7 separate regions of the Homo sapiens genome follow, and regions 1, 2, 3, 5, 6 and 7 are each linked to region 4. The links are contacts of gene promoters, found by promoter capture Hi-C in blood cells and fetal thymus (Javierre and others, 2016). All regions are on one chromosome and are shown on one strand. The core of a region is centred on a gene start or on the middle of the fragment in contact, and the rest is flanking DNA. Distances in the headings are between cores, read along the strand shown.

Region 1 (3,983 bases), core at 67-2,566, 2.4 Mb after region 4:
CCTCTGGAAAGAAAAGAGCACAAAAGTCAACTTTCCCTTGGCTTCTACCCACTGAACTCCCTACTGGGGTCCAGCATTGAGGTACAACGAGACCCTGGTGCTCAGGGTGCAGCAGGGCTGTCTAAATGGTGGGTCCTGGCCTCTCCATGCTGATGCGGCTGCAGAAGAAGCAAGGGGCATGGAGTCAGGAGACTCAGTTTCTGCTCTGCTTCCGCCGCTGGCCAGTTGGGGGAGCGTGGGCAAGGATGTCATTCAAAGTCCTCATCGGTCAACAGAAAAAGGCTGGGTCGATGGAAGTCTCAGCTTTCTGGCTGACATCTGAATTGGGGAAACAGCACCCTCTAGTGTCACCTGGCAGGGTTGGGGCTTCTCAATGCTTTTTCGGAAATACTCCCCAGGGGGATCACAGACCAGGGCTGAGGTACAAAGGAGGCAGAAGTGTCTGTCCACTGGCTGGGAATGGCATGCCTGCCCACTCCCGCCCTGTCTACTCACCTGTGCTGTGCAGGGTCACAGAGGTCACTGTGGCATGGATCACATTGGCCTTGGTGAGCTTCAGCAAACCGGAACAAACCAGCTTATTGCCTCCTTCCACAGACCACAGGCTGCCTTGGGCCCCGGCTAGTGACATGGCTCCTGGGCAAAGCGGGAAGTGGGTGCTGATAGGTTGTCAGGGCCGTGGGGCAGGAGGGCTGGGGAGTCCAGTACTATTCGACTGGGCCTCCCTGCCAGAGCAAAACTCTCCCAACCATGGGCATGGGGAGATGGCAAACATACAAGTAAGTACAACAAAGTGCACAATGCTATGGGGGGAAGACACTGTGCTCAACGAAAGAGCCAGCTCCCAGAGACCACATATTGTGAGGTCTATTTATGCAGAATGCCCAGACTAGGCAAATCCACAGAAACAGAAAGCAGATCTGTAGCTGCCCAGGGCTGGGAGGCCGGGGGGTGTTGGGGAGGTGAGGGCTAAAGGGCAAGGGGGTTTCTTTCTGGGGTGATAAAAATGTCCTAAAATTGATTGTGGTGATGGTTTTAGAACTCCGAATGTGCTAAAAACCACTGAATTGTGCAATTTAAATGGGCGAATTATATGGTATGTGAATTCTATATATCTCTACACAAAAATGCTATGAAGGAGACACACAAGATACTGAAAGAGTGAGCAAGGAACACTGAGGGGACACTGAGGCAGGGCCTGAAGGCTGCGAAGGAGCCAGCATGTGCAGAGCCAGATGAACAGTATCGAGGGTACGAGGGAGGTGCTTGTTATTGTAAACCTTTGCATTCATTTATTTAACAAAAATATACCCAGTGCCTAGTATGACTTAGGCACTGTTCTGTGTTTGCAATGTATCAGGGAACAATAGACAAGGATTCCTGCTCTTGTGAAGCCTACATTCTCCACTCCTGTGGTCTGTGCTAGCAGACAGTGAGCTACACACAGGCCCAGCCACTCCCGTGAAGAGCTGGGAAGAGGAGGTGCTCTCACAGTGGCTCAAAGGCCTCAACAGGGCAGTTCTTGAAACCAAAGTGTAGAGAGCAGAGCATTATCTCAGCTCTAACATTTACACACATGCAAGGGATTATGAAGCAATTGGGAGTGGTAGAAACACACTGGACCTGTGATCTGAGCCTTGCTTTCACTGTCTGTGAAGTGGGGTGATACTATCTCCTGCCAACTCATGGCCAGTCCCAGAATCAGGCAGGATGGGGCAGCAGAGTGCCTATGTGACTGCAATGAGCTGGATAAAAGTGAGGTTATTATGGGGACCCCCAGCCCATTCTGAGCACCTTGGGTGGAGGAGGGGCAGGTGGGCAGGCCAAGGGTTGGACGCTTACCTGCAAAGGCGGGCATCGCTGCTGACTGGCCATAGCTGGCCCGCAGGACAGCAGAAACGACATCATCAATAAAGCGCTGCGTGACGCCCACCTGCAGCAGGGACTCAGCCACAGAGTGCTGGGTCATGTTAACAAAGGTGGACTCCCCCAGTGAGTAGAGCAGCTCCTCCACACCCGAGAAGGCATAGCCGTGGGCCTGGTACTTATAGATCCTAGAAGACACATAGAGCTGGAGTCCTTGTGCAGGAAGGCTTTTTGCCTGACCACCTGCCCCTGGGTTATAGTGCCTGGGAGGCCCACCAGGAACCCATCACTTCCTCTACATGGAGTGGTGGCAGAAGAGGCTGGTCATGTTCCCTGGCACCTGTTCTCTGACTGTGGCGGGCCTGTCCCACCTAAAGGGAGTGTGAAGGTATGGAATCCTTCTAGGCCTGGCTTCACATCACGGCTGTGCTGAGTAACAACTGTATCACTGCTCTGAGCCACTCCCTGCCTGAGGTCATAGTTCATAACCCTTTCTTCACCCAGCTGGGGCTACGGCCCACCCCTGCTGACACATCTCCTTCTCCAACAGTGTCGGTTCTGCCACAGCTTCTAGGACCTGATGACACACTGCAACTTCATGCTGATACTGTCACCTTCTCTGCCAGTCCAGCCTGTCCTCTCCTCTCGCTTCATCTGACAGGGCTCCCACTCACCCCCAGGCTCATGTCCTGTCGCTCTATCACTCATGCAATCTCACTAGCATGGATTGGAACCATCGATGGATTTCCTGACTGGCTGGCCTTTGAAATGTTGCCCATTCTAGGGCTTCTTTTGTAAACATGTTGAGTTTGGTTATCAATAGGACACGAGATGGAGGTGTCCAGAAAGTTGAAATGTGGGTCTGGAAGTGAAGAGGAAACTAGGGCTGAGAGGGAGAAGTCATTTCCCATAAAACGTAGAAGTCAACATTATTGGTCTGGATATAATTGATAAGGGAGAAAAATATCAGAAAGAGAGGTAAGGAAATAAGCTTTGGGTGACATCTGGAGAATATAAGGAAGAAGTGCTATAAACAGCAGAGTTATAGAATGGGAAGGGAGTGGAGAAGTGCCAGGAACCAGGGCAGGAGGGCACAGGCCACACTTGAGTGACACTGAAGGGAGGCAGACAGTGATGGGGTCCGGGGAGCAGCCCCTGCGCCTTAGGCTGGAAGCAGGGAGCACCTTCAGGAGGGACTTTGGGGAAAGGTGGAGTGACAGCTTGGTGAACAGGGAGGGAACAGACCACTTGCCCTCCACATCTGGGACCAAAGGTGATGGGGAGGGGGCTGGAGCCCAGGGATAGGAGGAGTGGTGAAGAAAGGTGTTTATTCTAGATGGAAAAATGAGGACAACAAAGTTTGCAAATGAGTGGTCCACAGGCTGCATCTGCCCTGCAGAAGTGTTTCATTTGGCTTACAAGATGAATTGGTTGCAAATGTTGAAAAACTGAAAAGATTTCACACACGACTCTGGATTTCCAGCTTCTTCTGAAAAGTGAGTAGATCTAGCCACATGAGGTGGGCATTGTACACGGCTGGCTGCAGATGGCTGCGGTGGAGGGCTGGCTGCCTCCTTCAGAGGGGGCCTTGTTCTGCTCTCTTCCACCTGCTGATTCACTGACTCGCATCCCAGTTCAGCCCTTGTTAAGCGACTGAGTTTGCAACCCATGCTTTTATTAGTATCAGTGTAGTAGAGGGTAAGAAAATGAGAGTCAATGTGACAATACTAGGGAGACCATTACTGGACCAAATACGGCCATTCCTCATGCCAGGGGCTTGCTCTGAGCCTGCACTGAATTGTGCTGGCTCAATTCAGCAAGGACCTTTTCCTTTTTCACAAAGTACAGGCAAGCTGGTTCCTCCCCCACCTCTTCTCGGTTCCCCTGGAACGCCATCCCCACAGCTCTGCCAGCCCTACCTCATGAACTTCTCCATGACCTCCTCCACCCACATCTGCAGCCTCAGGAAGCTGATGCCATAGTGCCACCAGAGGCGGAAGAGGTTCAGCAGGTACCAGTCAGTCTCCTCCAGCATGAAGTGCTCCCCGCCGAAGATGGCGCTCCTGCCCACCACCTCGCGCCGGTGCCTCAGCCCTGCAGAGACAAAGAGGAGCCCC
Region 2 (3,849 bases), core at 337-2,836, 2.3 Mb before region 4:
CACTTATATGTTTGGGACTTCCTATAATATTAGGCCTGCATGCTTTGAACATATGATCCTTTATACTATAGTTATTTTACTTTCATTTCCAATCCTTTAATTTTTCCTCACATATACAGCCTCAGATGCAGAATTGTTCACCAAATCAGTTAAGTGGGCTGAGGTCATTAAGGCAGGTATATTAGATGCCATGGGAGACACAAGAGTACGTGCATTTGTATTTGGAAAAAAAAATATATATATATATATTATGCCTGCTGTTTTTAATGTAGCAGCTGACATTTGAAACCCAAGAACAGATTTCAAAAAGGAAAACCAAAGTGTCACCTTCTTCTTATCAGTTAAAAAGGGCTATACTATGTTTGTGGATGAAGTTACTTGATAAAATTTTTTATTACCTTTCCTTTTTGTGTGTGTGTGTGTGTGTGACGGAGTTTCGCTCTTGTTGCCCAGGCTGGAGCGCAATGGTGAGATCTCGGCTCACTGCAACCTCCACCCCCCAGGTTCAAGCGATTCTCCCACCTCAGCCTCGCAAGTAACTGGGATTACAGGCATGCACCACCACGCCTGGCTAATTTTTTGTATTTTTAGTAGAGACGGGGTTTCTCCATGTTGGACAGGCTGATCTTGAACTCCCAACCTCAGGTGATCTGGCTGCCTCGGCCTCCCAAAGTGCTGGGATTACAGGCGTGAGCCACCGCGCCCAGCCTATATTACCTTTCTTCAGCATTAATAAATAAAAATGTAATAGATAAGTGTAAGACTCAAGTTTAATCCAACTCCTTTTTCATCTTTCAGGTATACAGAATGTAAGCTTTGCTAGGATCATAAAGAATCAGAAATGTGGATGATTTTACCCCAGAAAACCATGTTGAATATTGACTATATTATTTTTAAAAAAGAGAAGAGCCTATAGCTGTCACCCCTAACAGATTGTCTTGTTGCCGTTCCTGCCAACTTCTGAGGGAAGAAATATTTCCATTCTGTTCCAATTTTCAACACAAATAAGGAAGTAATATGGCTGATTTCCGTTCTGGTGACTCAATATTAAGTTGGCTGAGGAAACTGATGTTTGCAGAAATAGTTCTGGGAAAATGCAAAGCAGGGAAACACATTGATGCCCAGGTGGTATTTTTTTTTTTTAAACTCCAATTATATTGGGATATTAGTGCTTCATTCTCTATAATCAAATGTGTTCTAGGCTGCATTTACAGCTCATCCACCCTTCTCTGCCTGCACTGTCACACTTGGAAAACGGACCAGTTCCTACAGCAGGCACACAAATTGACAAAGCAGCATTCTGAATCGGCAAAGGGGAGAAAAAGCAAATGAAGAGCAGGTTGTTAGCACTACCCTACCCTTTGCAAAGAATAAACACAAAGTTGTTCTGCCTAGACTCAAGCATTATTATAGGGATCTGTAACTAAAAAAGGTTAGTGACATTCAAACAGAAATCACTATCCTGAGGGCCATTTACTCAAAAGTTTCTAATTAAAATAGCCTTTATATTACTACCTTGGAGCTATCACATACCCCATAACTAGCATTTGGTCAGTCTGAGCTCAAACTTCAACATATCTTCTGGCACCTGGAGAAACATCGTCTGTATTTATCAGAGCTTTGCTTTAAACCCAGGATTATTTCAGTTATACCCATAACTTATATCCTTTTTGCCATAGGTATATTTGCTGAATAGCTACTGGATGCAAATGACAAAAACATCAATGAAACAGGCTTAGATTTATGATCTTCCCAGGCCATTTTTCCCCCTCTATAGTCTGAAACATCTCTATTTGAAACTCAGTCTAGTTAAAACAGAACTCCTCTTACCCTCAGATCTACTTGTTCAGCTTATGAACAGCTTAGATAATAGCCAGACAATTCTTCCAGTTTTGCAGTATCAAAATTGTAAGACAATCATGGCTCAGTGGTTAGGAGAATGGGCTCTAGAGTTAAGGTGCCTGATCCTACCCCTGGGTGAAGCCATAGGCTTGCAAGGCCTTAGTTTTCACATTTATTAAATAAAATAATATTAACAGTAACTGCATCATAGGGTAGTTTTGAGGATAAGATGAACTAATGTGGGTAAATTATAAATATATGCTATTGTTATTATTCCACCTCCTACACATTTTTCAATTAAGTCCTGTTGTCTCTGTCCTAACTCATATCCTTTTATCTCACCTGGGTATACCACACTATCCCCTTAATTTCAGAATGGATCTCCTTAACTCCTTTTACCTCTATGATGTATCCAAACACTGTGACACTCAGAATTGGTCCTAAACACAAATCTGAGCAATTCAGGGTAATTTTACAATCTACTGGTGATTTCTCACTGCCCATGAGATAAGCTTAAAATTCCAATTTGGCATTGTAATTCTCCAAGAATAGATTCAGGCAGCAGAACAGAAAGTCATGAGAAGCCCAGAGGTGCCTCTATGTACGATAATTGCTTGCAGGAGGAATGAATGGATTTAAACATTAAGTCTGGTCTTTAGTTTTACCTCTATCACAAATTAGCTATGATGTGCTCCAGTGGTTTTAGTTTCCTCACCTAGAGGCTGATTATCATTATCATTCGTTTCTTTGCTTAAATCCTATAATCTACCCAGCTTTCCTGCCATGGCTGAAAGCCTAAACTACGCTTGTTTTACTTTATTCTCTCTAAATAACTTTTCACCTTACTAGTTGTTCCTTTTGCTTAAAAATCTTTCTGCCCCTTCCCGTCAATATCTTTCTGGGGGAAACTGTACCCTCTCTATAATATTCAACTCTAATTTCATCTTATTCAGGAAACCCTCTCATGCCCACCCTCTTGTCAGATGAGTTTTTTTTTTTTTTGCTCTGTCAGTCCCCTAGCACATTAAGAGTACGCCATTATAAGACTTATCAGTTTTCCTCTTAGCAGTTAGTTATCCGTTCAAAAGACTGTAAGCTTATGAATGATAGAGTCTAAAAACCTTCTGTCCTTAGCACAGGGCCACTGCCTGTGGCAAGTGCTCAAAATTTTGAGTTCAGACACTCATCGACTTGGTAGTGTGAAAGGTGTCTGCTACAAACTTATTAACTTTCCAGAGCTTCAGGCTCTGGAAACTATTGATGGAGAGAGGTGAAGATAAGAAAGACACCTATCTTGAGTTTTAGTAGGCAGAACACTCTAGAGAATCATTTGACTGGTTTTCTCACTCTGTAATTTTCAGACCATTTATATCAAATTAATTTGTGGTGCTTGTTAAAGATGCAGATTTCTTGACCCCACAGACTTATTGAATTGGGATCTCTAGGGGATGCCTGGGCATCTGCATTTTTAATGTGCATATAGGTTTATTGATTTACAAATCAAACTCATATTTCTTTTACTGGCATGACAATCACCGTAATTCAGTGTAATTCTCAAAAGTGTGGTGCAGGAACTCCTGGGTGTCCCTGACACTGTTTCAAAACAATTTACATAATATTAGGACATATCCCTTTTTCACTCACATTCTCACACAATATGGCACAATTTTCTAAAAGTTACATGATGATTGATATTGTAAGAGAATGAAGGTAGAAGTTACGAAAATCTAGCTGTCTTTTATTCAGCCAGACATTAAAGAGATTTGTAACAATGTAAAACAATGCCATTCTCAATAATTTTTCATTTTGGAAAATATCCTTTACAGAAATGCTATCTATGTTAACATATAATGAGTTTATTTTAAAATGAATAACCTTTGTTGAAAGTTGTTTTCTAAAATAGTAAATATTGATAGCTATTATAAACAAAAACCCTTTGAAGTTCTCAATACATTTTAAAAGTATAAAGAAATTCTAAGATCAAAAAGTTTGAGAACTGCTGCTATA
Region 3 (3,745 bases), core at 189-2,688, 2.9 Mb after region 4:
GACAAAAAGACCAGAGGAAGTGCAATGATTCCGAGGGTGGAGAAGGATGTAATAGTCTTTGCAGAGAGGACTTTGCAGCTCTCATTATTCTCGCTCTGGGAGTTAGTAGGTCATTTGCAAAAGGCATGGGAAGAGCAGCTGATGAAAAGGTCTAATAGTTTGGAAAACTGCTTAACCTTATTGCTCTATTTCTGGATTTCTCCCCATGGCCAAAGGTTGTTGAGATACTGATTTCCCCCGGAGGTTTCCCATTTAGGAATGCAGTGAAACCTCTGAAATCCAGAGGAATTGGGGAGAAGGCCAGCTGGAATTAGGGAACAGTTTGAATACACTTTAAGAACATTCAGGTCTGCTGTTTTCAAGGACATAGGATCACAGATTTGGAAAGAGCCTAGCCCAGCCTCCTGCTCAGTGCAGGCCTTGTGCTTCATCCTGAACAGAGCTTCAGCTTCATCTGGGCTTCTCTTGAATGCTTCCAAAAACGGGAGGTTCACAATTCTGATAGATCATTTATTTCGCTCTTTGGAAAGTCTTCCTATACCCGAGCTAGAATCTGCCTTTCTGTAAAGTTCTGCTTGCCTTCTTGTATTCATGCAGAACCGAGAAATCTGTTTTTTTCCCCCCTAGATCATACTGAAAAGCAATTATCATGCACCAAATAGTACTTCACAGCATTCTCTTCTGCAGGCTGACAACCTTCAGAATATTCAACCATTGTTTATATGGCAAATGTCATCAACTCTAATTAGAAATATAAATGATTATCTCTAGCCTGTAAATTAACAACTGTATAAATTCAGAGGGGAGCAGAGCTTAGATACCACCTGTACTGGCCTCAAATTACAGATGAGTAAACGGAAGTCGGCTGAAGAAAACCGCCTCACCCAACTTCAGAGAGAGAGAGAGTGGGGTGGTGGGTGGGAGGTTGGAGGGGGGCTCTTTTCACCTCACCCTGCCTCCTATTATTCACAAAACACCAGAATTTCTCAAGTTCTTGAAAGTGCTTAGGAAGTTTGTTCTCTTACGCATTTAGAAAAATCCCTCCTTCAAATTATATTTGCACTGTCAGTGAAGTATGGATTAGCACAGACTGAATTTAGTAGAGGTTATACTGTCAATGGAAAGTATCATTCAAAGCATATTAAGCTTCCTTGCTCTCTGCTGTCAGAAAATCATCTCCTTTGATCTAGAATGCTAGCTCAAGATGGAAAACATACCTATATGGCTACCCAGGCCTATCAAATTTCCATAAGGTCTGGCTACCCACTCAATTTAGGAGGCCTTCCCAACTTTGGAGCTGAGAAAGAGTGCCAGGACGTAGGGCAGCCTGTGTTTCTGCTTTACTCTGCTGTGTTCGTTTTAGAGTTTCATATCCTCTTTCCATTTTGGTCTGATTCTCTGATGAGAAGACAAAACAAAGACTTGGAGAAGCAAACTAGGCACTTCAGTGATTGGTTTTTTGTGTCAGTCCCCAGAAACCCTGCAGTCACATGCTTGGAAGGGAACATTCCTCCCTGCCTCAACCCACAGCAGTCTCCGTCTTCTCTCAACAAAGTATTGCATTTCCAGTTCTTACACTTGTTCTGGCACAGATTCTAAGCTACCTCGTGCTGCTTCCTGGTTTGCCTGGGTGCTAGGCTCCATGGATCCTGGAATCACAGAGACCTGGGTTCTCGTCCTGACTCTGCAACTAGTTGGTTGTATGGCTTTGGAAAGTTACTGAAGCTTTCTGAGCCTCAGCTCCCTCATTTGTTAGATGAGGACAATTATGCTACCTACATCATACAGTTGTGAGGACATAACGCCTAACAGGTGTCTAACATAGTCACTAACTTTTAGTAAGATTCCATAAAAGGTATCTGCTTAGTATCCTTAATATCATGATCCAAAAGGCAGAAATGGAAACCTATACTTTTCTCATGCTGCATACAGTAGGTGCTCCATAAATACTTTCTGACTGATTCTGGTTTAGGCTCCATTTGGCAATAGGTTCACCATAAGAAACATTCTAAGAATCATGTAAAGACAGTTCCTATTCTCAAGCTCCCCTTTCTCCAGATTCCTTATCCCATTAATTATTGCAGTGGGGAGGCTCACCCTGTCCTGCCACTGTTCACACCTCTCAGCTTGCATCTTAGAAAAAAGTTCTTCTTATTTGACAGACTCTGAGAACTTGCTGTCCAGGCAAAAAAAAAACTCACGATGAGGAATACAACACAAACCTTAGGTGGCCAGCATGTCAGCAAACAGAGAGACGAAGGGACACTGACAAAAGCCAACCCCTCAAAAGAAACAAAGCAACACACCAAAGAGGTAGAAAGCAAAGGATTAAGATATGCCTAGAATGCTCTTGCTTATCAGGACCCTTAAAACTAATCAAGGTTCTTGTGTCTACAGTATTCCTAAAGGAACGTGAATATGGTTAAACTCTCCTTTTAGCTGGGAATCTGAATTAACATTAATACCTGAATTTTAACAGAAATTACATTAGACATTCCTTTAGGCAAAAGAGTATATATACAACACCGACATCTGGTTATAAAGAGCTAAGGAATCTCCCAGCTTCCCTAAATGCAGAAGATATCCTAGTGGATGCTTGTTGAGTTAAATGAACAATTATTTCTTTTGTCTCTATTGCAGATTATTTGTTTATGCTCTAAATTTTGTGTTAAGGACAAAAGAAAAATATATTGGCTGAAATGAATGTGTTATGTTATAGCCCCAGTTGAGGGTGAGGAAAGAACGCAATGCTAATGTGGTGGAGAGAATGCAGCAGTTCCTGGAATAGCAGTTGGGTTCCCTGGCTTGAGTCCCACTCTGACATCCTTGGCTGCTTACCTTGGGCAAGCCCTTCACCTCACAGCGTTTCAGTCTCATCAGATGTTAAATACTTTCTATGGGCTCTTCCATGTCTGAGATCTTATGAGGCTACAGGGAGCATGAATATTAGCCAAAGAAGCTGCCCAAATCTCTGAGTGTGGAGACCAGAGCAGTAGAAAGAGAATGTGATAATAGCAGTAGAAAGAGAAGGTGATAATGTGTAATAAGGGTTTTCAATAGGTATGAAAACCCTTGGAAAAAAGTAAAAGCACTGAATGACACACATTCTCCAATTTGCCATGGCATGTTCCAAAATCACAGGCGCCTAACCTTCTCCTGATAGCTCGGTGCTCACCCAAACATCCCATCATTGAGTTGACAGGAAGCAGAGAAGGCCAATGCTTTTCTGGTTGGGGACCTTGGCTGCAACAGAAAGGAAGAGGGGAGTGGAGTCAGCTTCATGAGCCAGTGGAATGGCAATGAACCCTGCAGGCTGATCTGCTCTAGCCTGGCGTTGCCAAGGAGGACGATCCACTTCATCAAACCTGGGCCAAGCTCTGGCTCAGACACACAGGCAAAAATAGAAAGGGGCTGGGAGAAGAAATGTGTTTACTTTTGTGATTTCCCCTAACGTGCCTCTTGACAGTATTATAATCTCTTCACAAACAGGAGTCATGGCCCACAGGCCTCACCTCCATTGATAAACCCTCTCAAACAATTCATGTACAGACTTAAAGCCTTCTTAACATTTCATGATCACTATTTGGGCAGCTAGAAAACAAGTTTAGAAGGCAGCATGATGGAATGGAAAGAGTGCTGGTGAGGGTCTGTTACTGCCTAGGTGAACTGTGAAAATCCCTCTCTAAGGCTCTGCACAATCAAGCGCTTGCATTAGAAAGAATGTATGTATCTGCTGAGATTTTTA
Region 4 (3,820 bases), core at 1,074-3,573:
TTCCCCTGGTGCAGTGTCAGCTCAGGAACAGCAAACTGAGTTAAACAAAGAACTGTCTACTTTTCTACCTGTAAGAGGTACAAAAGCTTAGACTTTTGTACCGGTAAGCAGCTCCAACAAAACTGACGTATGACTTGGTAGGGATGTAGGGCAGCCTTGCCAAGCCTTACATTACCACAATTTGCTTCAATTCACTTGTTCCTGATAAATGCACAAGTAATCAGTTAGAGCACCAGTTTGTGAAATAATCACGTAATTTTCATGTTCCTGCCCAAGTGATAACCATTTGCCTGAGGCCAAGAACTGTATTTTTTTAATATTTTAAGTAGAAACTAACGAAATTTTCCCTCAATAATGTGTAAGGTAATTTCATTCTATTTTGCCTCAAGCAGTAATAAAATTAGCTGGACTCAAGCTTAAACAGTTTAAATGTAGGTCATTCTAGTGTTTTTCCATTTGACAACTTAAATTGCTCAACTTTAAGTCTAAGTTAAAATGCTAATTCCATAGTTAACCAGTCTGTAAGGGCAAGTAACCGGAATCGCCACACCAGCAAAGTTCCAAGTAAATGTTACTTGGAACATTATTATAATACTGTTATAGAAACATGTTTATAGAAAGGGTTTCCAGAACACGATTATAGAAATCTTTATGTTTATAGAAGTGTTTCTATAACATAGAAGATTTATTTCACTAAGCCAAGGAGTATGTTGGCTTTTAAATAATCTAAAAGATGGTAACTACTAGAAAAATATAAGCTCCAGTCCCTGAAGAAAAGCATCTTGTTTCTGCATATACACAAGAACCCAGCAGAGTAAATGCTAAATAAACGGAGTGTACACAAACTTTCATCCACAGATCTCGACTGTCACAGTTGTTTTTTCCAACACATCTCCAACACCAGTAATTCATCCAGCATGACACGCTCCACAGAGGTCCAAATAGTATACTGTAACTGGGCGCCAACCTTTCTATTCCAATTCCGTATTTTAACCCACAGATGCTAGTGAGATCTTAAATTCGTCGCTTTGCACCTCATTCCCTTCAACTATAAAGTGAATCTTCTCAAGGTCTTTCTGCAAAAGTCTCCTCCAATTAAAAAAAAAGTAGAGAAAAAAAAATTCAACGTCTAAAACCGGAGCCTAACTTCCCGCTGGCGGGAATTTCCCATCAGCAATCTGAGATTCAAACCCGATGAGGAACACAGTCCATGTTCATTTGCACTTACTCATCGTTTTCCCTACTTTTTTCCAGAAGCTACGGTGGCGGCACATCTACCCAGGGCCTGTACAAGTACACGTAGAAAGGAAGCCCAAACCCTTTTCCTTTGTCACATTCCCACTTCCAACCCTTGTCTCCCTGGAAGCCCAGAACTAGCCCAAGTACAAATGCCGCTGCAGCCTTCTCGGCAGGTGGCCTTTTGAGGCTGATGCTGCCCCGAGGGACAAGTGCTCTGGGGGCAAAGACTAAAAACAGGCTTGGGAAGCGGGGAGCTCGGAGTCAGAGGGCCCGGCGTCAACAAATCCCCGCCCTTCCCGTGCGTGCCTGTGACCCCGCTCTCCAAACCCGTGCCTTGGGCCGCTAAGGAAGGAGGATAGCCGTACCCACCTCGCCAGCTCACTGCAAGAATCAAATGAAAGGCAGAAAAGTGGCTCCGCACAGTGCCGGACACACAGTGAGGGCGTGGAAAGAACATTGGTTGTTACTACCACTCCGTGCACTCGCTGCTCCCTCTTTGCTCTCTGCAAAACCGAAGGCGCTTCTGCGACGCGCGGACCGCAAGACTCCAATCAGACTTTAGTGCTGCCCCCACCCTAAACGAAAGCCTCCTTCTGGTCCGAACCGACTGGATCCCTTGGCCAGGGGAGGAAAAGGTGCCGCGGGCGCGTGGCGGAGAGGGTGGCGGGCGGGAAACGCTGGGCGCGGGACCCCTGGCCCCAGAGACCGCCCTGGGGCCCAGGCGGCGGCCGCGGCTTACTCCTGCCCCGCGAGGCCGTTGGACGCAGCACGCGCACGCGGCGGACACGGCCACGCGCCCCAGCCGGGACGGGAGCGGGAGCGAGGAGCCGCCGCGCGCCCGTCCGTCCGCCGCGCGCGCCTGCGGCCGTTGGGGTGGGGGTTGGGGTGGGGGACGCGACTGGCGCGGCCGCCGCGAGCGCCACTCAGACTTCTCCCTCTCACAAGTGCTGCGGCTCGGCTTAGTCCTCTGGCCTCCCTGCCCCGCCCACACCCCGGCGTACCTACGCGGCTGAGCTGGAGAGGAACTAGCTCTGCACCACAGCACCGAGGATAGTACAAACCCCTCACGCAACTGCGTCCGCACACACGCGTGCTCCGCCGCCGGTCTATATAACTGCCACTCACCCTAACTTGTTGCGGCCAGGTCGGGCGACGGGATGACCAATCCCGACCGCGTCCTCAGGGCTCTTCGAACAGTAATTGGGCACTGACTCGGGGATGAAGGCGTGGCTCTTGATTGGCTTTGACTCCTGCCTATGAGACTGTGAGGATCTCGTTTCCCTAGTAACAGATCGGCACTAAGAGAGACCAATAACCGAAAAGTACAATAGAAAGGCGAGTGAGCAGTTCTTTGACTGATACTCAAAGTAGCCAATAAATGTGTGGGGCTGCTCTTATTCGTTAACACGTCTTCCCCTGGGCGGAGATCCGTTTTCCATGCAGGAGCGGTTGCGCCACAAGGTGGGGCCCGTGTACTTTGGGGAAGTAAACCCCTAGCAACTAGGAGGCGGGCGTCCGAGAGGCCAAGACAGCCTGTGGCCAATCGCAACGCCGGAAGGAGCTGATAGACACGGAGGTTGCTCTGCTCGGAAGAGACCGAGCCCCAGGGCCGCCGTGCCCTCTGGGCGGTTGTGAGGCTGTGCAGCCTGCGGCTTCTGCCCTCTTTCTTTCCCTGACTGGTTGGGTCCGGCCTCCGAGGCCTGTACCCCGCCTTTTCCGCATAGGTTTGTACCTGGCGAACCAACTAGTAAAGTTTCCCGGGTTGTTTTCTTTTTATTACAACTTTTTTCTTACGTGCGGCGGCCAAGGGCCTTGCTGCTCTCACCATTACTCAGCACTGCTGCGGGGCAGAGGAAGGAGGGTCGTTCCTGCGCCGCCCGCAGGCTCCCGCCGGAAGGTCGCCGGTGGAAGGCCTGAGAGTGCGCCCTTCCGCCAGGCGCTTCTTGGCGGGCGCTGCGAGGCGGCCGCGGGCGTGTGGCGAGGCTCCCTTTGTGGCAGCTGAGGCACGGTGGTCCGCGCGTGCTCCAGTGGAGTGTGGGCCCTCGCACCACGTCCCGAGCTGCACCACTATTGTTCAGCCTCGAATTGCCGCGGGTGGGGGCTTATTCTCGTCGCTACGCCTTTAAAAGGCAACTCGTCCCCTCCTCCTGGCGTTTCAGGCACTGGCGGGGCTACAACTCAAGGCTGGCCGGCCCTATTTCTATGGAAATAGCTTTGGTTCCCAGCCGTCCGGCACAGACACGCCCCGGTTTGTTCTCGTTCCAGGCATGTGACCAGGGTCTCCCGCGGAGTTTTGCTGAGAATTTTGGAAATGAAGCATGTGGAGCGCCTATGTCGGGGGAGAGAGGCCGAGCTGAAGGAGCACGGGCGCCGGCCTCGGCCTCTGGGGAGCCGGGCCCGCTCGCCTCCCTGCGCGGGGCTAGCCCGAGCCTGGAACTCGGGAGGCCCAGGAGCGAAGTGAAAGCCCCTTCTGGTCCCCCAGGGCTCCACTCCCGCAGCAGCCCGGCTCCGTCGGCGTCAGTGGAGCCCCAGGCCTGGGTCCGAGATGAGCGAGACGCTGCTCTGGCTCGCGGTCGCCCGA
Region 5 (4,130 bases), core at 888-3,387, 2.4 Mb after region 4:
AGGGTCCTCAGAACGGCAGTCCTCACCAGCAGTTCTCTGGGTGGCAGTGCTGAATGGAAGCGGCCATCCCCTAAAACAGGAAGGAGGTGGCACATAATGAAGAAATGCCATCATAAGCCAAAATTACAACCAAGTTTAGAGACCAGAGATCTTCCCAGATGGAATCTCTGGAGAAAGTGTTTTCAGTTATAGTAACAAATGAACACTTACGAAGTCCTTACCATGTACCAGACACTGTTTTACTTGAGTCATCTTTTCCTCTCACAACAATATGTGAGATAAGTCCTATCATTATCCCTATTTTACAGATGAGAAAACTGATGCTGAGAGGCTTAAGGCATAATGGCCTGCTCAAGATCACATAGTTGGTATTCCGCTGGGTCAGGACACTAAGAACCAGGCAGCAGAAATAGCCAGAACTGGGTATACAAAAGTCAGCATAAGGAAACCAAATGCTAGTACCCAGAACCAGAGGAGCATTGTCAGAAGTGGGCATTCAAAAAGTCATATAGTTCTGGTTCAACCTTCTAACTTACAGATGAGGGAAATTAAGTCCAGTAAAGGGACCTTAAGGCTTAGAATTCTAAGCCTTCCTCACCACAACCTGTAAGGCTTTTAGGAGACCTGTGCTGAGAAAGAAATTCCCACCTATAAATAAGATCAAGTCAATGAAATACTTATACAATACTATATGTTACTGCCGGTGAATAGACACAGGTGAAAATAGATCTTTGCATTCAACTAGTTATGTAATCTAGAATTTTGTACAGCTAAACTGTTTTGACATTTAGTTCAGTTTACACAGAAATAAATTTAGACTAGGGGCTAGTTTACAGCAAATCTTGGGCTGTGGCAGTCCTGACCTGGCCCAGTTCAAGGAAGTTTCCACTGCAACTCCTGGATCTTCGTAATTTGACTGTAAGTAAAATTATCTTGAAAATCAATCTGTGAGTACATGAGTTCTTTAAAACAATTTTTATGGACTGGCATATACTGTAGAGTGGTCCTCACGGAGACAGCTGAGCAAAGGCTTAAAGAGGGTAAAGGAGTCAGCTTTAGAAAAGGGAAGAGCATCCTGGGCAGAGCAAATAGCTAGTTTAAAGGTGTAAGCAAGAGGACTTTTATCTCTCCTACTTTCCAAGCTGATCTTAAATTCAATTATTATAATCCGGTGTGTGATTTTATAGACAGTTCCACATTTTGGGGTCAGAAAATATGGTCACCGTAGATCTGGGGCTAATTACACACGGTGAAACATCTTCTCCCTAAAAAAACCACATTTATCCACTTGAAAAAGCAGGTCAAAATATTCTCAGGGGCCGGGCGCGGTGGCTCACGCCTGTAATCCCAGCACTTTGGGAGGCCGAGGCGTGCGGATCACGAGGTCAGGAGATCGAGACCACGGTGAAACCCCGTCTCTACTAAAAATACAAAAAATTAGCTGGGCGTAGTGGCGGGCGCCTGTAGTCCCAGCTACTCGGGAGGCTGAGGCAGGAGAATGGCGTGAACCCGGGAGGCGGAGCTTGCAGTGAGCCGAGATTGTGCCACTGCACTCCAGCCTGGGCGACAGAGTGAGACTCCGTCTCAAAAAAAAAAAAAAAAAAAAAAAAAAAAAAAAAAAAAAAATTCTCAGGGCCAGTTCAAAGGGAAAATGGCCAAAGCTTAGACCAAGAAATAGGGTTGGGGAGTTGTGGCCAATCTCAATTCCTACTGCTTCAGAACTGGAGTAGGGAGACAGCTTACCAGAAGGAACCATTTTTCTTCTGGTCATTTCCTTACATCACCAACAAGCTGCCAAAAAGACTTGAGAACGGTAAGCAAAACCAAGTCCCGAAACCCTGAATGCAACCTCTCACTTAGGTGCTAGGGTAGGATGTTGGGTCAGGTGTGTTAAGGTAAAAAGGGTGACATATGTAGTTAAGCACATTTACCAGATTCTCCCGTAGCTTACTTTACTATTCAGAGGTCCAACCCTACCTCGTACTCAACTATTTTTATTCTCTATCCCAGGAAGAAACAGTGTAGGGGCAACAGTCTCTGAGAAAATTAATTAACATCGCTCATTAAATAAGAGCGCCGATTCCAACGCCCTGACTGGTTTCCAGCCCGGGTTCCACCACTTCCCAAATATTTAAGTTTGGAAGTTACTCAACTTTTCTAAACCTCACTTTCCTTAACTACTAAATGGGTAATAATAAAAAGAACCACCCATAATTCTGCAGTCGGCCTCGTAAGCGACCAATAAAAGCTGCCGATGGAACTTGTCTTCCGAAGGCTGATGCAATGGCCGTTTGGAGAAACAAGTTCAGCGGCCTCCTTTTACTGACAGGTACAACAGTGCCCGGATAACGGAGAAAGGACTGGCCTTAGGTCACACGGAGTGAGGGGAGAGAACCCAAATTTACCCACAGGTACCACAGGCTGGGAGAAGAGGCCGGGAGAGTGGTACATCCCTCCCTTGGGGGCTTAAGAGACTTCTCACCTTCCAGGCCATGCATGACCTCGGATCTCCTTACCTTCCTCGGCCTAAGAAAGAGGCACGGCTGATGGCCTCAGTTTCCCCGTCTGTAAAATGGGGCCGTGAGTGCACGGTCGTAGAGGCCGAGAAGCTTGGTCCCCTGGCCTACGCTCAGATAGCTCTCGCCTTCCAGCCCACAACCACCCCGGCTGGCTCGCTAGCCCCTCAGAGTCCTCACGCTCCCGACTCCCCGCCTGCAATGCTTACTTGCTCTCCCACGCGGCACTCCAGGCCAGTAGGCGCTGCACCCGCAGCCGGCCCGCCCACAGCGACCGTACGGCCATGTTTCCAATTTGGGCTGAGAGGCAGCGCACGCGCACTTGCTGCGAGTGAAGAGATGCTCCCGCTTAAAAACCAGCCTTTGCGGGCGTTTCCCTCTCAGGACTTCCGGACAGGAACGCTATGCTTCCGGTTGCCCGATGGGCCGCGCCGTTCCCCATCCGGTCGTCCGGAGCTAAGGCAACACTTCCGGCTCTCAGTGTGTTCCGCGGGTAGGCGAGGTCCTAGTAGTAACTACAGTCTCCGTGCTGGGCGCAGGGTCGGCAGCAAAGAAAGCAGATCATAGCTGTGCCCGCATGGAGCTTACTTGATATTATGAGCGATAAACAGATACAAGCGGGATGTAAAGTCAGAATATGAGCGGTGTTTGAAGGTGAGGGGCAGGTGTCGCGGAAGCCTAGAATAGAAATCTAGCCTTGTGGAAAGTTTTCCCAGAGGAAGGGGGTATTTGAGCTGAGCTGAAGAAAGGGTTCAGGCAGAGGGAAACATCTGCAGAAGCCTAATAAAGAGAGAAGAGTATTGCATGTAAGGGACTGAAATATACTGAGGCGGGAGGGCAACAGGACTGGTGGTTAGGAAGGGCTAGATCACGTGAGCGGTTTAAAACATCGCAGCCTGAACCATTGCCCATCACTCCTCCCAGTCTTTTTCTCTAATGCCCTTCTTATCGACTGAATTGTTTTTTTAAATAGTGTGTATTTTCTCATTTCCTCTCACTAAAATATAAGCTCTTTTAAGGCAGAGATATTGTCTATTCATTCCCATTGAGCAGTGCCCTAATGTAGGTGTTCAAAATTATTTTTTTTGAGATGGAGTCTCACTCTGTCACCCAGGCTGGAGTGCAGTGGCACGATCTCGGCTCACTGCAACCTCTGCCTCCCAGGTTCAAGTGATTCTCCTGCCTCAGCCTCCTCAGTAGCTGGGATTACAGGCGCCCACTACACCCGGCTAATTTTTGTATTTTTAGTAGAGACAGGGTTTCACCATGTTGGTTAGGCTGGGCTTGAACTCCTGACCTCAGGTGATCTGCCTTCCTCAGCCTTCCAAAGTGCTGGGATTACAGGCATGAGCCACCGCCCCCGGCTTCAAAAAACTTTTTTGCTGAATGCAATTTAGTCTGATTCTGATTGCAATGGAATGTGAAAATAAATAAAACCTAAAAGCTGTTGGAACCTCCCAAATACTTGAAGCTTTGAGAGAGATGTGGCTGTGGTCTGAGTCCATGTAGCATGTTTTGTAGTTCTGCTTCTTAGAATTATAGCTTAATTCTCTTCCTCATTGTTCTTGTTCTGTAATGACTAGGAAAGAGCAGAGACCAGATTTCTTCCCTCTC
Region 6 (4,044 bases), core at 976-3,475, 2.3 Mb after region 4:
AAGCATCACTGTGAGCTTCTTTCAAGTAAATGTCATAAAGTAAAATGAGATAAACAGACATGGTATTTGAGGTGGAATTTTAGTAAGTTTGTAAATTCAGAGGGATGAAGAGAAGTAGGTTAATGGGCACAAAAATACAGTTAGGAGGAATAAGTTCTAGTATTACATAGTATAGTAGGGAAATTATAGTTAACAATAGCTTATCGTTTATTTCAAAATAGCTAGAAGAGTAGAATTGTAATGTTCCTAACACAAAATATAAATGTTTGAAGTAATGGATATCCCAACTACCCTGATTTGATAATTACACATTGTATACATGTAACAAAATATCACACATACCCCATAAATATATACAACTATTATAGATCAATGAAAAAACTTTGTCTATAATTCCAAGGATTAGAAAGTAGTGCCCATTTTCTGTAATCAGCACCTGATACTCCCCAAGCTTCTTAACCTTAAAAGTACTCAGTGGCTCAAGCAAATGTGAGCAAATTGTGATATTTGTGGCACAAAACAAACTCAAGCATTAAAAGGTTAAAAGTGGCGCGGCACACTGGCTCACGCCTGTAATCCAGCACTTTGGGAGACCAAGACACGAGGATCTCTTGAGCCCAGGAGTTCCAGGCTACAGTGAGCTATAATAATGCCACTGCACTCCAGCCTGAGCAATAGAGCAAAGACCCCATCTCTTTTATGTTAACAGCCTTTAATGTGGGCTGGGTTTGGTGGCTCATGCCTACAGTCCCAGCACTTTTGAGAGGCCAAGGCCGGTAAATCACCTGAGGTCAGGAGTTCGAGACCAGCCTGGCCAACATAGTGAAACCCATCTCTACTAAAAGTACAAAAATTAGCCAGGCGTGGTGGCTGACACCTGTAATCCCAGCTACCCGGGAGGCTGAGGCATGAGAATCACATGAACCCAGGAGGTGGAGATTGCAGTGAGCCGAGATCGCACCACTGCACTCCAGCCTGGGGGATAGAACGAGACTCTGTCTCAAAAAAAAAAAAAGCCTTTAATATGTTTTAACTAACATATATGAGTGAATCCTAATAAAAGAGTTATGGCTTATGTTTTTGTTTGTTCAGTAACACGTAAGCATCCATACATTGAACATGTATTGAGAGCCTACCACTGTACTTAGTGCTGGGGGTTGGGGTGGCAAAAAAATAAGAATTAGTCTCTTCCCTCTAGAAAGAAACTTAGAGTCTAATAAAGAAAGATGGAAAAATAAGATGTTCCATCCTTGTTGTAGAGTTGTAGAAGTCTCTGTTGGGTACACGGGTAACAAATGTGAAAAAATATAATTCTGAGGAAGGGAGATACAAGAAAGCTTTCATTTAAGGTAGTTGACACCTAAGTCTTGCTCTGTGGTTGACAGGTAACAGGTGTAAGTTGTTCAAGCCAGAGATTACTAGTTTGGCTTCAGAAGACATTTGTCAAGGTAGAAGAGTACAATTTAGAATCTGTGTATTCATGATAATAAAAGCTCTGGGGAAAATGGGGACAAATAAAAAATAGAATCCTAACAGATACTACTGGGTAGAGCAAGAACATATGGACAGAAAGATAATGTTGGCAGTCTTTGGATATGTAATCTATTTAAAAATACAACTTCTAAGTAAGTGTCTTATAGAAAAGATAGAGGCTGGGTGTGATGGCTCATGCCAGCAATCCCAGCACTTTGGGAGGCAGAAGCAGGAGGATCACTTGAGCTCAGGAGTTCGAGAGCAGCCTGGGCAACATAACGATACCCCCCTTTCCACAAAAAATACAAAAATTAGCTGGGCATGGTAACGCGCATGTCCGTAGTTCCAGCTTCTCAGGGGGCTGAGCTGAGAGGATCACTTGAGCCCCGGAAGTTGAAGCTGCTGTGAGCCGTGATCTCGTCACTGCACCCCAGCCAGGGTGACAAAGTGAGACTCTGTCTCAAAAAAAACAAAAAAACACAGAACTTCTATTGTATACAAGAAATGCCATAAGCAGTCAAAATAAAAAATAATTTAAATTTGTTTACATAATGACAGATAAAAGATTGTTTGTTTTATGACGAGAACTCCTAAAAGCTAACAAGAAGACAATAGGCCGAAAGAAAAATAGGCAAAGAGTGGAGCTTGACAGTACATAGAAGAGTAAATCCTCATAGAAGGGCCAGGCGCAGTGGCTCACGCCTGTAATCCCAGCTCTTTGGGAGGCCGAGGCAGGTGGATCATTTTAGGCCAGGAGCTGGAAACCAACATGGTGAAACCCTGTCTCTACTAAAAATAAAAAAAAGTACCCAGGCATGTGGCGGGTGCCTGTAATCCCAACTACTCGGGAGGCTGAGGCAAGAGAATCGCTTGAACCCAGGAGGCAGAGGTTGCAGTGAGCCAAAATTGCACCACTGCACTCCAGCCTGGGCAGCAGAGTGAGTGAGACTCTGTCTCAAAAAAAAAAAAAAATCCTCATGGAAGGATTACTTCTAAATCGAGGCCGGGCATGGTGGTTCACACCTGTAATCCTACCACATTGGGAGGTCGAGGCAGGAGGATCTCCTGAACCCAGGAGTTCAAGAGCAGCTGGGCAACATAACGATATCCCGTCTCTACCAAAAATTAAAAATTAGCTGACACAAAAAAATTAGCCAGGTGTAGTGGCATGCACCTTATAGTTTCAGCTACTCCAGAGGGTGAAGTGTGAGGATCACTGGAGCCTGGAAGGTTGAGGCAGCAGTGAGTTATGGTTGCTTCACTGCACTTCAGCCTAGGTGACAGTGAGACCCTGTCTCAAAAAAAAAAAAAAAAAAAGAAGAGTAAATCCAAATTGTTACAGCCTATTGTGGAAGGCAGTGTGATATTATCTATCAAAATGAAAAATACACCCTTCAACTCAGCAACTCCCCATAATTATATGGGATTTGAAGCCCATAGAAATAAAAGCACTAGTGGGTAAAGATACATGTCTATTAATGGCATTATTTATAGTAGGAAAAAGTGGAAAACAATGTGAGAATACTGTGAGTTGGGGAAGACATAACATCTCTACCACAGAATATTTGTAGCCATTAAAAAGGATATTTGAGCTATAGCGTTTGACTTTGCATAATTTCCAAGAAATTAAGGAAAGCTTTTAAGAATGGCATGTTTAATATTTAACTTTTGGAATGAGATTATATAAGAATTATAACAACTACTTATAGCTTAATCTGCCAATCTGTCAACATCCTCCACTCCCAAGTATATGTGTATCTGTTTGTGTGCATATGTATATCTTATAACATGGAATTAGGTCTGGGTAATACAAGGCCATTTTAACAGGTTACTTTAGAAGGCCTAGGATTGAGTGTGGAAAGTTTTTATTTTATTTCCTTTATTGTAGCAACTGAAACTATTATACAGGTATTCCTTTTATTATTTGAAAATCACAAACACCAAGTCTTCCTATGGGGTTAGACCCTGCCATGGTTTTAATTATTAATACTAGAAGGTAAAGCCAAAGGACACAGCAGGTATATGCTTAGATATCCATTAACCTAGAAATAAATGGAGAACTTAGTTGTCCTTTCCATTTCATTTTCTTTAGCGCTGTCTTTGTGAACTCTAAATAATTGAGATACTGAAATACTTAAGAAATGTGTTGATTTTCATTTACTACTTAACTCAATTATCTCTCCCTTCTTTTTTTTCCAGATGATCAGTAGAATTGAATATGTGCATACAAAGAATTTTATACACAGAGACATTAAACCAGATAACTTCCTAATGGGTATTGGGCGTCACTGTAATAAGGTTAGTCAAATGCTCTTTGCATGAAAGAACAAAGAGTAAAGTTTCGACAAGAATTGCTTTGGTAAACTTTTCAATCTTTTAAAAAGCCATAGTAAGTTGAATTTGCTGTTGACAGTTGCTTTAAAAGATTGTGCTATGAGGATAATCAGCTAACTCCATTAACTTAGTAACTTGAAATAAATTATCTTCAACTTACCCAACCGAGGTTAGTTACCTATATGGAAATATAAAATTCTAAGGGCTGTATAATGAACTGTAGTTGTCTAAGTTATT
Region 7 (3,856 bases), core at 36-2,535, 2.7 Mb before region 4:
CAGTTTAGTCAACTTTGAAATGGATCCTTGGGAACAGCCTGGACTAGATGTCAAGAAATCAGTGAGAGAAAATCAGAGCTGGTATGAACTGATGACTTACACCTTCATTTTTTGGGGAAAAGACTTCTCCCAAACCATTATACACTCTCTAAAGGCATAAACAAGGTTTAAAAAAAAGTGACACTGTGGTTGTATTTACGCATTCGTCAGGGGCGTCTTGCAGAAAAGCAGTGTGGTCTACTGGAAAGGGCCCTAGACTAGAGCCTCCAAACTATATACATGACCTCGGCTCTCTGTGCCTGTCTGTAAAATGATGGGGCAGTCTGACCAGTGGGTGTCCAAGCTTTTAGCTCTCAGATTCCATATTACTATAATTCACTTTTCAAATAATCCACAGCAAAACAAAAGGACTAAAATTACTTCTTAACACAAAAAGCAGACCAGGCCAGAGGTGAGAATCAGATTAGAATCCATTCTTCCAGCTTCCGCAACTGGTTTCTTTGACCTTTACCTCAGGAATGTCAGTGTCGTGCTCGGGAGAATCTCCGCCATCGTCACTTGTCTTCCTCTTCCTTTTATTTCGGACACTCTGGATGAAATTTTTGTGAAAATCACAGATATATAGGTGCCTTACCTGATGGAGACAAAAATCAAAGTCAGAGTTGGCCAATTCCTTGGAGACAGCAATAGGTATCTGTCGAATTGCGGGGCTTCCTTCCATTGCAGGGCATTGGAGAGATAGATGGAAGACAAGATGTAGGCCATCATTCCCAGAAGCTCACTACTGAGTTGCAGAACACAAAGAGAATGCTAACATCACACTTGGCAGCGTATCATACACCAAACTTCCAGTGAATGGTGAAGACAGTAAATGGTACAGATTCAGCAAAGGAAGAGATCCCTGCAACAGAGATGCTCAGGGTGAAGGGCCCTGACTAAAAGGGAGGACTTTAGGCAGACAGGAAGCATTCCAGATGGGTAGGAGTGCCAAGACTTTAGAGTTTCCAATGGAGGATGACAGAAAGAGTGAGGAGGCCCAGGGTACAGTGTCAGTTGGGTGATGATGGCTGCCCATGTAGGAGCATAATGAAAAAGTGAGGCATCAGGGGGGTGGGCATGAGAACAGCTTAGACTTTCCTTCCGACAAGACAGAGTCCCTCAAGGAAGCAGGAAGTGATGTGACATTTTTAGAAGACCTGTAGGAGTCATAAACTTATAGTCGACTGGAATGTACTGTCCTGGGGAGGAGGAAAGCAGGACACAAGGGACTGTTGCAACGGTATTTGGGACACTCTATTTTTACAATTACAATAGCTACTATTGTAGGATAATAACTCTTTGAAAAACTTTGTTTCTATGTGTCAATTTATAATTCTTGCATTATCTCACATCTGATCCACAAAGAAAAGTGGAAAAAGATGTGGAAGTTCTTACAAGGTAGAACCACATACAAGAAGGTGGATACTACAGATTTTCTAATACAGGCTGGAGGCACACTGGTAAGTGAAGGTGGCAGCAACAGCTAAGACATGAAGAATCCTCCAAGGCTGGCTGGAGGAACCACTGAAAAACTTTACAGAAACTGAATGCCCAGCAAATGACTTGGGGTTGTTGATACTGAAACAGCTGTTGCACAAATGTTCTGCAGAGACTTCTGAATTTGAGTTTATTCCTTAAATCCTTAAAGATAAAAGTAAGCTGGCAGGAAATCCGCATCAATTAATTCAGACCTTTTCATGGAGAAAATAATGAAAACTGTTTATTTATTTATTCAGATGAATGATCACTTTCATGTGGCTGGATTAGTGAGTCATAAGTACTTTTAAGTTTATACTGTGATGGTGTCTTGCAGACAGGAGGTACTCGAAAAATGTTGATGTACCAATATAGGAAGTCTCCTATATCTAAAAGTGGCTTAAGGCTAATGAAAGCCACCACTTAACATGGTTACAAACTGGGATAGCTTTGTCAGATTCAACTCTGTCAAAGGACTTTCAAACACAGCACATGCCACTGTCCCAAAGAATCCCACCTAGCTGATGTATATACTACTGGACATGCTTTTCTCCAGGAAGAAAGCACAACAAAGCACACTCTGCATCCCTGAGAGGAAGCTAGCCCTCCATGTTAGCTAGACTGGCGAGTCCACTCAGATCAACTGCTCCTCAAGTTCACAGTAACAAACTTCATAGGAGAACAGGGAGAATAGGTGGCTTCCTAAAGCTTTGGCTGGGAGATTTCAGATCAGGACAATAGAATAACGGAATCCTAGCTGTAAGAGAACTTAGCAATCACTAGTGCAATCCCATTGACCCCAATCCGTTTTCTAAATGGGTAAAATGAAGCCATCCAGAGTGAGGAAATGACCTGGCCAAGGTCACCCAGGCCTTCTGCCCCCCCAGTACATGTCTTTTCCTACTCCAGCATTTTCCTTTATACTATTCTCAACTTCCACTTTTCTCCAGGAAAAAAAAAGCAGAAATATGTCAACTGGAGGTATATTAGTATTTTAACAGATCACAGAACACTGCCAAAGTCTATATAAAATGAGTTAAACAGCCTGAATTGAATTTCTGGTGTTGTTATTTAAAAAGGTTCTCTGCTAGACTCTCTTACAAGATAAATAATCATTTTCTCCTTAACCATTTTCAAGTACATACTGGTTTTCAGAAATTTCAGAGCTCAGTGGCCTTTGGGAGTGGGGTTGGGGCAGGAGGGTGGTAGCAAAGGCTCTAGTTTTTTTTTTTCCTTCACTTTCTGCAATAGCTAAAAATTCTTGTAACATACCAGTTACCTGGAATTGAATTCCTGCCCAAGCCTGTGAGAAAGAAATAGAATCCCTTTCAGAAATAATGACTCCACAACACCACCTTAAAACAAATTTTGAGTGATTCCACCTGGAAACCTTACTACCTCAGAAGTATTACATTTTGGGAACACTAATGCTAGGCTCAGGCTGCCCTTCTTCTAGACAGTGTGTGTGAAATGATCAGCATAGCTCAACACAGGTTTTCCAGTACAGTCAATGGGTAAATAAAAGGAGTCCCAGTTGCAGCAGCAAAATCATTCAGATGGGAAGGCATCCAGTGATCTAAAAGGACTGGAAGATTCTTTTAAGGACTGGAAATTATTATTATAAGCTGCTCAAGTAAAGCAGCTTCTAACAACCTACACGGAAGGTAGGCAGTGTTTCTAAGTGGATGAATTCATTGCCATAAGCATTTCACCTCAACGTGTGACCTAAGGAGGGATCACCTTGGTGTCTAGACCCTTGTTTGTTCTCAGATATTTCCATTCATGCATTCATTGATAGAGATTTGTAGTAAGAAAGCCATTAACTCTCTCCCAACCACTTAAAAATAGCACCTGTCCATGCAAGAGCTGCAACTGTATTATAATGATTAACTTAAAAATGGGGGTAGGAGGGAAGAGTCTGAAGAAAGGACAGGGGCTGGGCGCAGTGGCTCACGCCTGTAATCCCAGAACTTTGGGAGGCCTAGGCGGGTGGATCATTTGAGGTCAGGAGTTCAAGACCAGCCTGTCCAACATGGCGAAACCCTATCTCCATTAAAAATACAAAAATCAGCCAGGCATGGCGGCAAACGCCTGTAATCCCAGCTATTCAGGAGGCTGAGGCAGGAGAATCGCTTCAACCCGGGAGGCGGAGGTTGCAGTGAGTCGAGATCTTGCCACTGCACTCCAGCCTGGGTGACAGAGTGAGACTCCGTCTCAAAAAAAAAAAAAAAAAAAAAAAAGAAAAAGAAAAAAAAAAGAAAAGAAAAAGGACAGGGGAGATTTTTTATTTATTAGAGACTTAATGAAGACTTATGTATAGGGCTTGGAAGTAAATTAGATA

What was found. The method cuts DNA at HindIII sites, captures the fragments that hold promoters and counts their contacts. A CHiCAGO score of 5 or more calls a contact.
Region 1: a contact is called between a fragment that was not itself captured here and the fragment with the promoter of G3BP1 in region 4, in 1 of 17 cell types (fetal thymus). The highest score is 8.0, in fetal thymus.
Region 2: a contact is called between a fragment that was not itself captured here and the fragment with the promoter of G3BP1 in region 4, in 5 of 17 cell types (erythroblasts, total CD8 T cells, naive CD8 T cells and 2 more). The highest score is 10.7, in erythroblasts.
Region 3: a fragment that was not itself captured here is called in contact with the fragment with the promoter of G3BP1 in region 4 in 1 of 17 cell types (monocytes); the score reaches 5.3 in monocytes.
Region 5: a contact is called between a fragment that was not itself captured here and the fragment with the promoter of G3BP1 in region 4, in 1 of 17 cell types (fetal thymus). The highest score is 5.7, in fetal thymus.
Region 6: a fragment that was not itself captured here is called in contact with the fragment with the promoter of G3BP1 in region 4 in 1 of 17 cell types (monocytes); the score reaches 6.1 in monocytes.
Region 7: a contact is called between a fragment that was not itself captured here and the fragment with the promoter of G3BP1 in region 4, in 1 of 17 cell types (total CD8 T cells). The highest score is 5.1, in total CD8 T cells.

Annotation. Positions count from the first base shown.
Region 1 is chr5:149,364,013-149,367,995 of GRCh38, reverse strand. PCYOX1L (prenylcysteine oxidase 1 like) reads right to left here. Exons shown (of 6, transcript NM_024028.4): 3 at 3,786-3,960; 4 at 1,843-2,054; 5 at 496-636; 6 at 1-3. Among named protein-coding and RNA genes, the nearest start is that of PCYOX1L, 8.0 kb to the right of the region's middle. RefSeq lists enhancers at 1-277, 434-513, 604-653, 278-1,142 and a silencer at 1,396-1,690. The HindIII fragment of the contact is 3,087 bases long and covers 1-2,859 here.
Region 2 is chr5:154,040,128-154,043,976 of GRCh38, reverse strand. All of the region lies in intron 1 of MFAP3 (microfibril associated protein 3), which reads right to left. Among named protein-coding and RNA genes, the nearest start is that of MFAP3, 3.1 kb to the right of the region's middle. The HindIII fragment of the contact is 1,540 bases long and covers 817-2,356 here.
Region 3 is chr5:148,829,486-148,833,230 of GRCh38, reverse strand. No RefSeq gene overlaps it. Among named protein-coding and RNA genes, the nearest start is that of ADRB2, 4.7 kb to the right of the region's middle. The HindIII fragment of the contact is 579 bases long and covers 1,149-1,727 here.
Region 4 is chr5:151,770,457-151,774,276 of GRCh38, reverse strand. It overlaps G3BP1 (G3BP stress granule assembly factor 1), which reads right to left and starts at 2,323. Exons shown (of 12, transcript NM_005754.3): 1 at 2,241-2,323. LOC100652758 (a long non-coding RNA gene) reads left to right here and starts at 2,101. Exons shown (of 2, transcript NR_132345.1): 1 at 2,101-2,574; 2 at 3,505-3,820. RefSeq lists silencers at 1,697-1,766, 1,817-2,146 and enhancers at 2,355-2,649, 2,907-3,136, 3,515-3,820. The HindIII fragment of the contact is 14,997 bases long and covers 418-3,820 here.
Region 5 is chr5:149,344,212-149,348,341 of GRCh38, reverse strand. It overlaps GRPEL2 (GrpE like 2, mitochondrial), which reads right to left and starts at 2,843. Exons shown (of 4, transcript NM_152407.4): 1 at 2,726-2,843; 2 at 1-70. The coding sequence starts at 2,802. GRPEL2-AS1 (GRPEL2 antisense RNA 1) reads left to right here. Exons shown (of 2, transcript NR_132366.1): 2 at 1-226. RefSeq lists enhancers at 886-1,386, 1,911-2,534, 2,535-3,160. The HindIII fragment of the contact is 948 bases long and covers 1,664-2,611 here.
Region 6 is chr5:149,520,017-149,524,060 of GRCh38, reverse strand. It overlaps CSNK1A1 (casein kinase 1 alpha 1), which reads left to right. Exons shown (of 10, transcript NM_001892.6): 4 at 3,673-3,771. Among named protein-coding and RNA genes, the nearest start is that of CSNK1A1, 29 kb to the left of the region's middle. RefSeq lists an enhancer at 420-589. The HindIII fragment of the contact is 1,772 bases long and covers 1,340-3,111 here.
Region 7 is chr5:154,447,869-154,451,724 of GRCh38, reverse strand. It overlaps SAP30L (SAP30 like), which reads right to left. Exons shown (of 4, transcript NM_024632.6): 2 at 512-634. Among named protein-coding and RNA genes, the nearest start is that of SAP30L, 3.8 kb to the right of the region's middle. The HindIII fragment of the contact is 1,880 bases long and covers 346-2,225 here.